Linked DNA regions of Homo sapiens: all the other regions are linked to region 3. The links are contacts of gene promoters, found by promoter capture Hi-C in blood cells and fetal thymus (Javierre and others, 2016). All regions are on one chromosome and are shown on one strand. Each heading gives the region's core, a stretch centred on a gene start or on the middle of the fragment in contact. The rest is flanking DNA. Distances are from core to core; before and after follow the strand shown.

Evidence for each region. The method cuts DNA at HindIII sites, captures the fragments that hold promoters and counts their contacts. A CHiCAGO score of 5 or more calls a contact.
Region 1: a contact is called between a fragment that was not itself captured here and the fragment with the promoter of MPDU1 in region 3, in 1 of 17 cell types (total B cells). The highest score is 5.4, in total B cells.
Region 2: the fragment with the promoter of BCL6B here is called in contact with the fragment with the promoter of MPDU1 in region 3 in 1 of 17 cell types (monocytes); the score reaches 7.9 in monocytes.

The regions. Positions count from the first base shown.
Region 1 is chr17:7,052,894-7,056,570 of GRCh38, forward strand. No RefSeq gene overlaps it. Among named protein-coding and RNA genes, the nearest start is that of SLC16A11, 11 kb to the left of the region's middle. The HindIII fragment of the contact is 959 bases long and covers 1,346-2,304 here.
Region 2 is chr17:7,021,509-7,024,672 of GRCh38, forward strand. BCL6B (BCL6B transcription repressor) reads left to right here and starts at 1,542. Exons shown (of 9, transcript NM_181844.4): 1 at 1,542-1,591; 2 at 2,152-2,342; 3 at 2,575-2,796; 4 at 2,893-3,164. The coding sequence starts at 2,164. RefSeq lists a silencer at 496-635. The HindIII fragment of the contact is 4,378 bases long and covers 1-3,164 here.
Region 3 is chr17:7,582,005-7,585,531 of GRCh38, forward strand. MPDU1 (mannose-P-dolichol utilization defect 1) reads left to right here and starts at 1,848. Exons shown (of 7, transcript NM_004870.4): 1 at 1,848-1,961. The coding sequence starts at 1,859. MPDU1-AS1 (MPDU1 antisense RNA 1) reads right to left here and starts at 2,088. Exons shown (of 2, transcript NR_136402.2): 1 at 1,914-2,088; 2 at 1-159. It overlaps CD68 (CD68 molecule), which reads left to right. Exons shown (of 6, transcript NM_001251.3): 6 at 1-107. RefSeq lists enhancers at 672-1,545, 1,497-1,546, 1,546-2,420, 1,657-2,186, 2,421-3,293. The HindIII fragment of the contact is 8,258 bases long and covers 1,644-3,527 here.

The DNA.
Region 1 (3,677 bases), core at 575-3,074, 530 kb before region 3:
TTTTTTTTTTTTTTTTTTTTTTGAGATGGAGTCTCCTCTGTCGCCCAGGCTGGAGTGCAGTGGCACGATCTCGGCTTACCACAACCTCCGCCTCCCGGGTTCCAGCGATTCTCCTGCCTCAGCCTCCTGAGTAGCTGCGACTACAGGCACCCGCCACCATGCCCGGCTAATTTTTGTATTTTTAGTAGAGACGGGGTTTCACCATATTGGCCAGGCTGGTCTCGAACTCCTGACCTCGTGATCCACCCACCTCGGCCTCCCAAAGTGCTGGGATTACAGGCATGAGCCACTGTGCCCAGCCAGACCTGGTGAGTTATTAAAAGCACAGTCCCTGAGTTCCGACTCCCACCATTTCCAGGCATCTATAAAAAGGGGGCAATGCTTCAAAGGATTGTTGGTGAGACTTCAGTGAAGTAAAGCTTGGGAAGGACCCAGCACAACTCCAGGCACAGGGCAGGCGTCCTACAAATGTAGGTTCCCATCCATTTCATTCCATCCCATTTTCTAGCCACCGGTAGCCACCCTTTCATCTCTACGCCAGTCCAATTCTACTCCAAGTCACTATGCCCCTCCTGTCTGGATTTGTGAGGGGCAGTCAGACCAGAAGGGGCCAGAAGGTGATATTTGTCATCTCCCTGCTGCTATACCAACCTCTCAGCTACCTGAGTTTTTTGGGTCCCTTTGTCTGCCTTCCCAGCCTCAGCCTGAGACCTGGGCATCTGACTTGAAGGATGCAGGCTCTTAGTGGACATGGTAACCCACATCAGCCCTTAGGGCTGCAGCAGCCCTGCCTGGCCAGAGTCTCTACCTCCCCAAGGAATATCAACCAGGACCAGAAGCCAAGGCAGGAGGGGACAGGAGGTCAGATAACAGGTTTTCTGCAGGGATGTAAATTACACATCTTGGAGGATCTGACATATGCAAGGCAGAGTTTTGGGGGCCCAGTAAGCAAATGGTGCCTGTTTTCTTGCCCCAAGGCAGAAATGCCTTTGTGAACACTGGGAGGAGTCGCGTGGGGGCTAAGCCCTGAGAAAGTCCCAAAGTCATAGAAGGGCCCAGACGCTGAAGAGGCTGCAACTGGCTGCAGTGGATGCCACACAAGCCTCTTCCTGTCCTTGTGCAGGTGGATCTTGTCCCTCCCAGTGCGTTCCTTTCTGTACCTCTTGTTGGCCATGAATCTCCTTTGCCCCTGCCCACATCTCCATGCCATTTCCTCTGCAAAGCTTTCTCCTGCCTCTCCCCTACTGTCAAAACGTTTTAAATGCTGGGCAGCATCTCTTCTTTAGGGTTCCTTCCCTCTATCCCATTCAAAGAGCCATACCCAGCTTTAGCTACCTCCATCTCAAGCTTTCATCCTATCTTTCTCTCCTCCATTCACAATCAGGAGTCCCTTGCAATGAGACCGATTCTGGTTTAAAACACATTTGTGAGGGACGGGTGTCATGGTCTCACCTGGAGGGAAATCACACCTGCACAGGCCTACAGAGAGGTGAGGCGGGGCCTCGGGCATCTCATCAACTGGGTACGTAGAAAGAGGACTCTGATTTTTTTTTTTTTAGATGGAGTCTCATTCTGTCACCCAGGCTGGAGTGCAGTGGCGCAATCTCTGCTCACTGCAACCTCCGCCTCCCAGGTTCAAGCAATTCGCCTGCCTCAGCCTCCCGAGTAGCTGGGATTACAGGCACATGCCGCCATGCCCGGCTAATTTTTTGTATTTTAGTAGAGACAGGGATTCACCGTGTTACCCAGGCTGGTGGTGAACTCCCAAGCTCAGGTAATCCACCTGCCTCGGCCTCCCAAAGTGCTGGGATTACAGGCTTAAGCCACCATGCCCGGCCGAGCACCCTGATTTATGGGTAATCAGCTTCCCCTTCCCTGGGCCCAGGGATCTGGGAGATAGGAAGTTGATGCCACCGCCCCAAGAGCTGATGTTTCAGGACTGTGGCCAGTGAGTGCTGAACACAGTGAGCAGCAGAGTGGGCTGACACCTGAGCTCCAGGACTCATAAAGCCCCGCTGTTCTTGCATGGCATGTGGTTTCTGGGTTTATTTCCCTGTTGTCCTTGAGGAGAGTATATTTATTCCCTAAGTATGCAGGGCTTAGGGCTAAAAGCATTCCCCATGCTTACAGAAATGCTAGGGATATGAAAAAGTGTACCGATTTCCAAATACAAAAGGCAAACTTAAAAATCTAAAGTAATGAATATTAAAGCGTTTTTAAAAATGTCTACAAAACATAATATTAGTCCATTTCTTTGTTAAATTTCATGTTCCTAAATTTTCATTACATTGGAAAACAATTTGAAGCTTTTTTTCACTTTGCAGGATTTCCTAAATGTTTATCGTGATTGCTGAGAAATCAGAGCCAATCATAGATTCACTGAGTTTCTTATAGACAAACAATCCTTTAAAAGAATAAACGTCCTTTTAAGATTTTAAACGGCAAAAAATCTTAGAAATCTTTTAAATTTTTGGGCCGGGCACGGTGGCTCACGCTTGTAATCCCAGCACTTTGGGAGGCCGAGGTGGGCGGATCACGAGGTCAGGAGATCGAGACCATCCTGGCTAACAGGGTGAAACCCCATCTCCACTAAAAACACAAAAAAATTAGCCGGGTGTAGTGGCGGGCACCTGTAGTCCCAGCTACTCGGGAGGATGAGGCAGGAGAACGGAGTGAACCCAGGAGGCGGAGCTTGCAGTGAGCAGGGATCGCACCACTGCACTCCAGCCTGGGCGACAGAACAAGACTCCGTCTCAAAAAAAAAAAAAAGAAATCTTTTAAATTTTTAATTGTAAAAATATATTTAGTGTGGAATGTGAGTGTATTTTAGTATATGTTATTAAGAGGCAACATAACATGGTGGGACAAACACGAACCCTGGAACCAGATTGTCTGGGTTCAAGCCCTGGCTTTGGTACTTACTGGCTATATAACCTAGAGCAAGTTATTCAACCTCTCTTTGCAATAGTTCCCTCATCCCCAAAGCAAATTATAATAGTTCCTACTTTTGAGGAAAAAAAAGATGGTAATTGCTATGATCTTAATGTTTGTGCCTCTCCCCGTCAAATTCATATGTTGAAATCTAATCCCAGGCCGGGTCCGGTGGCTCACGCCTGTAATCCCAACACTTTGGGAGGCCGAGGTGGGCGGATCACCTGAGATCAGGAGTTCGAGATCAGCCTGACCAACATGGAGATACTCTGTCTCTACTAAAAATACAAAAAAATTAGCCGGGCACGGTGGCACATGCCTGTAATCCCAGCTACTCGGGAGGCTGAGGCAGGAGAATTGCTTAAACCTGGGAGGCGGAGGTTGTGGTGAGCCGAGATCATGCCATTGCACTCCAGCCTGGGCAACAAGAGCGAAACTCCATCTCAAAAAAAAAAAAAAAAAATCTAGTCCCCAATGCGAAGTATTAAGAGGTGGGTCCTTTAGGAGGTGACTGAGGCCTTCATGAGGATGAAGACCTTGTGAATGAGATTGAGTGCCCTTATGAAAGAGGCCTGAGGCAGCCTGTCCACTCCTTCTGCCCTGTGAGGACACAGCTAGAAGGTGCCATCTATGAGAGCAAGCCCTTACCAAACACCAAATCTTCTGGCTTCCCAGCTTCCAGAAATGTGAGCAATAAATTTCTGTGGTTTTTGTTTGTTTTTCAGAGATGCGTCTCACTTTGTTGC
Region 2 (3,164 bases), core at 292-2,791, 560 kb before region 3:
TGGACCATGGTCGGCCATTCCTGGCCAACTGTACACTCTCCCCAGCCCAAATCCGGGGAGCTTCTGCCTTGCAGCTGGATTCAGCTCTAGCACCCCTTCTCCAAATGAGCTTTGCCTTGCCTGCCCGCAATGTCTCCCGAAACAAAATATGAGGGTGTGATCCATGCCCATCTCTCAGATCAGGGACTTCAAATTAGGGTGGTTAAGCCCCCTCCTGCCCTCTCTCCCTCCTCCTTGTTTTCCCTTCTCGTTTACCCCACCCAATTTTAATGTTCAATTAAAAGTCACCTCCAAAGACATCTGGGTAGCAGTGTCTAGCTTAATTCGAAAAGAAAACCCGGAGTTCCCAGGCTCAGGTCCCGCTTCTTGTCCCACCCATTCCCCTGGCTCCTAAAGCCCGCGATTTCTCACCTCGGGTAGGAACCCCAGCCTGAGGGGAAAGTCCCCTCGGTCTCCTAACTCTAGCTCCCTCCGCCCAGCCCTAGTCCCCTCCTAGGAGACAGAGGTGCAAAATAAACCCGCGCAAAGGGGAGGAGGCTAAAGGTTTCAGCCGCCCAGACCAAATGGATCCTGCGCCCGGGTCTGAGCGCACCCCAGGCCGGGTGGAGACGAGGGGCGAGGCGAGGCCAGTGCTCGGCCGCCCCCTCGTGGAAGGAGCCGCACATTGCCGAGCCTTGCCTACTTGCCGCGCTGGACCCCGGCGTCCCGCCAGCCTCCAAGCGTAGCCGACGGGCGGGTGCCCGAGGCCCTCGTGAGCTGGGATTGGGGGAAAGCAAGCGGGCTTTGGGCGGGAGTCCATCTCTCTGGATCCCTACAAGGACCCAGAAGAGAGTCGGGAGCGAGAGAGGCCGGACGCCTAGGTCTCCCGAGCGTCTCTCGCCCCTCCACCCCCACCTCGGGGCTTTCCCCACCTCCTCGAGGGGAAGCAGCTGGCGGAGCCGTCCGGTCGCAGGACAATGGAAGGAAACCAACTAGAAATCATATCCGCCCTCTCCGTACCCCGCCCGGCCAGAGCCCCCCTTTTTGTAGGCCCGGGTAGAGTAGCCTGTCATTCACACCACACCCTCCCCGTCTGAGACCCTACGGGAGCCCACTGTCGTCTGCCCAAACCTGCTGTCTCGTTGGGCTCCCCCTTTTCTCCCTTAACACAGTACAAGAGAGGGAGAGGGGGTTGCCGTATGCACTTTGTCCTGCAGCAAAGGTTGGCTCCTGGCAAACCCTCCCAAAAGCCAACACACCAATTTTCACTGGCCCAGGCCTTCCGACGACTCAGACTCCCGTATTGCCAACCTCGATATCCCTAACCTCCTCCCCAATTCCAATATCCCCGTCCTCGTGTCCACTTGCAGTGACCCAAGACCCCCTACGTTACGACCACCCCTTGTTTCTGAGGTCCCGCCCTCGAGACGGAGACCCCGCCCTGGACTCGCCATCTGGAGAGCGAGGGAGGAAGGAAGGATACAGACCCAGGCGTTCACCCCACCTCCACCCCCGCCCCCGACATCCCGGCCAGATAAAGGAGCCGAGGCCAAGAGGGGAGAGAGACCCCGCCCCCCTTAAGAAGAGAAGCCGCGGCCCCTGCAGGACGGGGGTAAGAACAAGAGACTGAGGGAGCCAGACTCCTGGGTCCCCCAAGAGGGTAGGAGCTTGTGTGGAGCTTGCCATCAGCGAGCCTGAGTCCCAGAAATTGGGCTAAACTAGGGATTGGGGACTAGATAGGAGTCGCAGAATTCCGTAGTTCGGGGAAGGGAGCCTCGGCTGGGATTTGGAGGTGTGTGGACGGCAGGCCGTGAGATCTCGAGGCAGGGTTGGACACCTGAGACACAGGCGCGCAGAGGGGAGTGGCGGTGCTGGAGGGGCACTGGGGGTCGAACCCAGGGCGATGGGCGCGGGATTCCCCACGCTCGCCAACGACGCCGCGGTGTGGAACCTTCAACTGGCTCCAAGCGCTGTGGGATCTGGAAGAGGCAAGGGAGCGAGGGTGTCGTAGAGGGCAGAATGAACAAGAAGAATTAGGAGGGAGGCTGCGTGTGCCGGGGCTAGGGGCTGGAAGTCCTGGCTCTAGTTGCACCTCGGAAGGAAAAGGCAAACAGAGGAGGGAAGGCGTCTTAGGACTGCCTGGATCCAGAGCACTTTCCACGGCCTCTACAGGCCTGTGTCGCTATGGGTTCCCCCGCCGCCCCGGAGGGAGCGCTGGGCTACGTCCGCGAGTTCACTCGCCACTCCTCCGACGTGCTGGGCAACCTCAACGAGCTGCGCCTGCGCGGGATCCTCACTGACGTCACGCTGCTGGTTGGCGGGCAACCCCTCAGAGCACACAAGGCAGTTCTCATCGCCTGCAGGTTCGAGGGGTGGGGCCTGGGGCGGGGCCAAATGGGAAAGGGGTGGGACCACAGGGCCGTTGAGAGGGAATCCGAAGCCAAGTCTTTCAGAAGCAGGAGGCGGAGCGTCCCAGAATTGGGGGCGGGGTGATAGTGAGGAGGCGGGACTTTTTCAGGGGGCGGGGCTTCCTGAAGCTGCGCATGTCTCCCTTGGTTCCCCAGCCCCCAAAGGACTTATCTGCTCTCTCTCTAGTGGCTTCTTCTATTCAATTTTCCGGGGCCGTGCGGGAGTCGGGGTGGACGTGCTCTCTCTGCCCGGGGGTCCCGAAGCGAGAGGCTTCGCCCCTCTATTGGACTTCATGTACACTTCGCGCCTGCGCCTCTCTCCAGCCACTGCACCAGCAGTCCTAGCGGCCGCCACCTATTTGCAGATGGAGCACGTGGTCCAGGCATGCCACCGCTTCATCCAGGCCAGGTGAGGGACCCTGGCTCGGCGTTCTCTGTGGGTGAGGTGTTAAGGGCAAAGGCAGAGTTTAGGAAATGGCACTAACGTTCATCACACTTTCCCCAGCTATGAACCTCTGGGCATCTCCCTGCGCCCCCTGGAAGCAGAACCCCCAACACCCCCAACGGCCCCTCCACCAGGTAGTCCCAGGCGCTCCGAAGGACACCCAGACCCACCTACTGAATCTCGAAGCTGCAGTCAAGGCCCCCCCAGTCCAGCCAGCCCTGACCCCAAGGCCTGCAACTGGAAAAAGTACAAGTACATCGTGCTAAACTCTCAGGCCTCCCAAGCAGGGAGCCTGGTCGGGGAGAGAAGTTCTGGTCAACCTTGCCCCCAAG
Region 3 (3,527 bases), core at 598-3,097:
CGAACTGCCCCCCCCCCCCCCCCAGCAGGAGAGCAGCAAAATTTATGCAAATCTTTGACGGGGTTTTCCTTGTCCTGCCAGGATTAAAAGCCATGAGTTTCTTGTCACATGCCTTTCTATGCCTTCCATGGCTGGGTCTCAGGGAGCCGGAAGCAGCTGCTGAGGAGGGATGAAAATGTCAGTGTGTGACGATGCCTCATGGGTTCACCCCCCAAAGCCTGGCACAGCTGGTGTTGGGTCTGCCGTGCCTCCCTTCCTTCCTCCTCTTGGGGCCACTGGCTGCTCCAGTTCCCCATCCGTGGCAAGCCGGTAGAGCCATTCATCCCCGCAGCCTTCTTCCTGACCCTCGTACAGTTTCAAATGCAGCAGACAGCCAAAGCAATGAGTGGGGGGCTGTGGAACTTCATTCCCAAAGGCAGCGCCAGTGGCTCCTGAGCAATGAGAATGTCCTGTCCTGTCCACCATATTCAAGGCCAGCAGAAGAGCCCGATTAAACCCTCGCAGCACCTGGCATGCTCCTATCCCACCTACAAGGGGTTGAATCAAGAAGGAGCAGTGGGTACTCTGACCTCCACTGGGGGCTCCTGGGAACAGCATGCCCCCCACACGGGGCCACCTGCCAAGCCTAACTTCATGCCCCCAGTACTTGAGATGAGGAGTGTCACTCTCAGGACAGCCAAGGTCCAGATTCCAGAAAGGACCTCCCAGATGGCCACAGCCTGCACCAGCAGTGAGCGCCAGTCCCACCCATTACAGCTGGCTACGGCGCAATCCCTGGGAGCCAGGATGAGCAGCACCCCCCAGCCGTAGGAGCCCCAGGAGGCTTCCGGCCTCCAAGGCCCAGAGACTGCCCCACAAGGGCAGCCCTCACCTGGCAGGGCCCCAGCAGCCCCACCTCTGCCTGCAGACATCCGTGTGACCTTGTAGACTTTGGAGGGGGGCCGCCAAAGGGCTGATCCACAGCGGAATGACGCACGGGTGGGCACCGTGGGTTGGCGTCCCGGCGGTCGGTAACGAAGCACAACGCCCCCACCAGGTAGTCCAAGGTGCCCTTTCCCAAGCAGCGCTGCAGGGTCCACTCGGCCTCGCCGAAGTCTCTGCCCAGCACGTGGTGCGCCCTCGGGCCAGCGGGGAGGGGGCGAATCCCGGGACTGCCTCGCCAGGCCTCGGCTCCCCGGAGACTCTTGGGGGTCTGGGCCCCAAGGGTGATTCAGGTGCTGCCCTTCCCCGACCTGGGCTCGCCTCCCCCACCTCCTCCTCTGCTTCACTGTCCCGGGCCCAGCAGTTGCCGGCGCACTCATGCTCCGAGGCCTGAGCCAACCGGAGGCGAGACAAGCACAGGGCCCTGCGCGCAACCCGGCACCTAAGGAGGCCTGCCCGGTGCAGACTCTCCTGCTCCCACCGGCGCCCTTCCCTCTAGAGACGCTGAGAGAACGGGAGCTAGTAGCGCCCCCACCCAACGCCACCTCGGAGACTCCGGCTCCTTCTCTCTCAACTTCGAACAATACAAAGTGTGCTAGGAGAAGACAAGATGGCGCCCAGCAGGAGGAGCGGAGAAAGGCAGGGGTGTAAATCTGGCTTCCAAACTGGAAGCGTCAACAAAGGCGTGGGAGGTCTAACCGCGCAGGCGTGCAGCTTCGGCAAGCTTTACAATTCCAACAGCGCGTCCAAAACGTGGTCCCTGACTGAGACTTATTTTACGCCACTAGAGTGAGGGTGGGTAGCGTCAGAAAGAGCGGGGCACGGGGCGGGCCAGCTTCGCCGCGGGAAAAGAACGGGAGGCGGAGTGTCCGCAGCGCGCACGCGCAACGAAAGTCAATGGCGGTCTGGAGAGACTGGCGGAAGCTAGCTTTGCAATATGGCGGCCGAGGCGGACGGACCGCTTAAACGGCTGCTCGTGCCGATTCTTTTACCTGAGAAATGCTACGACCAACTTTTCGTTCAGTGGGACTTGCTTCACGGTGAGTTTTATTCAGCATCCGATCCAAGTCCTACTCGAGTGACCGTGGGCCCTTAGTCCAAGCCTTGATCGGCGACTAAGTGACGGCAGTGACTGCCGCCATGCCGAGCTGGACGGAAGTCACTTCTGAGAAGGGCGGAAGTGTCTCGGGCTCCTTAGAGGGAGGACACCATATTAGTGCCAGTGGGGAAGTCACCGGGTGGAATTACTTCTTTGTGGAGTTTGTGCTGTAGCGACAATGAAAAACGAAGAGTCAACTTTTATAAAACAAAATAAAAATTAAGTCAAATCATGCCAACCTTTATTAGATCGCTAGCAGGGTTAAACTTAATTCAAAGCCCCTGATGAATCGGGCCTTCATTGCACCCCCAAAGGCTCCGCCACCCTGATTGCTTTCTTTCCAGCCTCCAGGTTTGCTCATAGTCTGATTTCGGAATAATTTGCCTCCCTTCCTTTTTCTGATTGCGAGACAGCTCCACAAGGGTCACCGTCAGACCGTTTGGGGAGCGTCAGTCTGCCCCTGTCAGTTCATGGTACCTCTCTTGAGCTCGTGGGGCACTTTGTTTTAGCCGCATTCATGACCCGTGAGAGTCAGACTCCCACTAGACCAAGTTCCTTGAGGGGAAGGCTTCAAGGCTAGAGAAGTTGTGGATGGCCAGGGCATAAAAGCAAGCCTTGAAAGGGTAAGGTTTAGTCCCTGAGTAGGGGCCAGGGACAGTCAGAGTGTTCAAGAAAGAGTGGTATGGGGCGGGCACGGTGGCTCACGCCTGTAATCCCAGCACTTTGGGAGGCCGAAGCGGGTGGATCACCTGAGGTCAGGCGTTCGAGACCAGCCTGGCCAATAGGGCGAAACCCCGCCTCTACTAAAAATACAAAAAATTAGCCGGGCGTTGTGGCAGGCGCCTGTAATCCCAGCTACTCGGGAGGCTGAGGCAGGAGAATCGCTTAAACCCGGGAGACAGAGGTTACAGTGAGCCAAGATCGTGCCATTGCACTCCAGCCTGGGCAACAAGAGTGAAACTCCGTCTCAAAATTAAAATAAGAAAAAAAAAATGGTATGAAGACTTGTCTTTGGAGAGAGAAGACATGTGAAATGGGGCACCCATTGGCCCAGAGAAGGGAAATAAAGGATCAGAGAGCTCTTGGGCATTTCTCAGCTTTATATGGGGAAGCAATGGAGAGCCGTGGAGGTCAAGCCAAGTTTGGGTGTTAATTTATAGGGAATGGAAGATTGGATGTGGGGGGTGGTAGGCATCGGAGAAAAGCTGTTTTGGAAAGTAACAGTCTGGGGCCCGGTGCGGTAGCTCGAGCTTATAATCCCAGCACTTTAAGGAGGCTGAGGCAGGTGGATCATCTGAGGTCAGGAGTTCGAGACCAGCCTGGCCAACATGGTGAAACCCTGTCTCTACTAAAAACACAAAAATTAACCGGGCATGGTGGTGTGTGCCTGTAATTCTAGCTACTTGGGAGGCTGAGACAAGAGAATTGCTTGAACCCAAGAGGCAGAGGCTGCAGTGGGCTGAGATTGGGCCACTGCACTCCAGCCTGGGTGACAGAGCAAGACTCT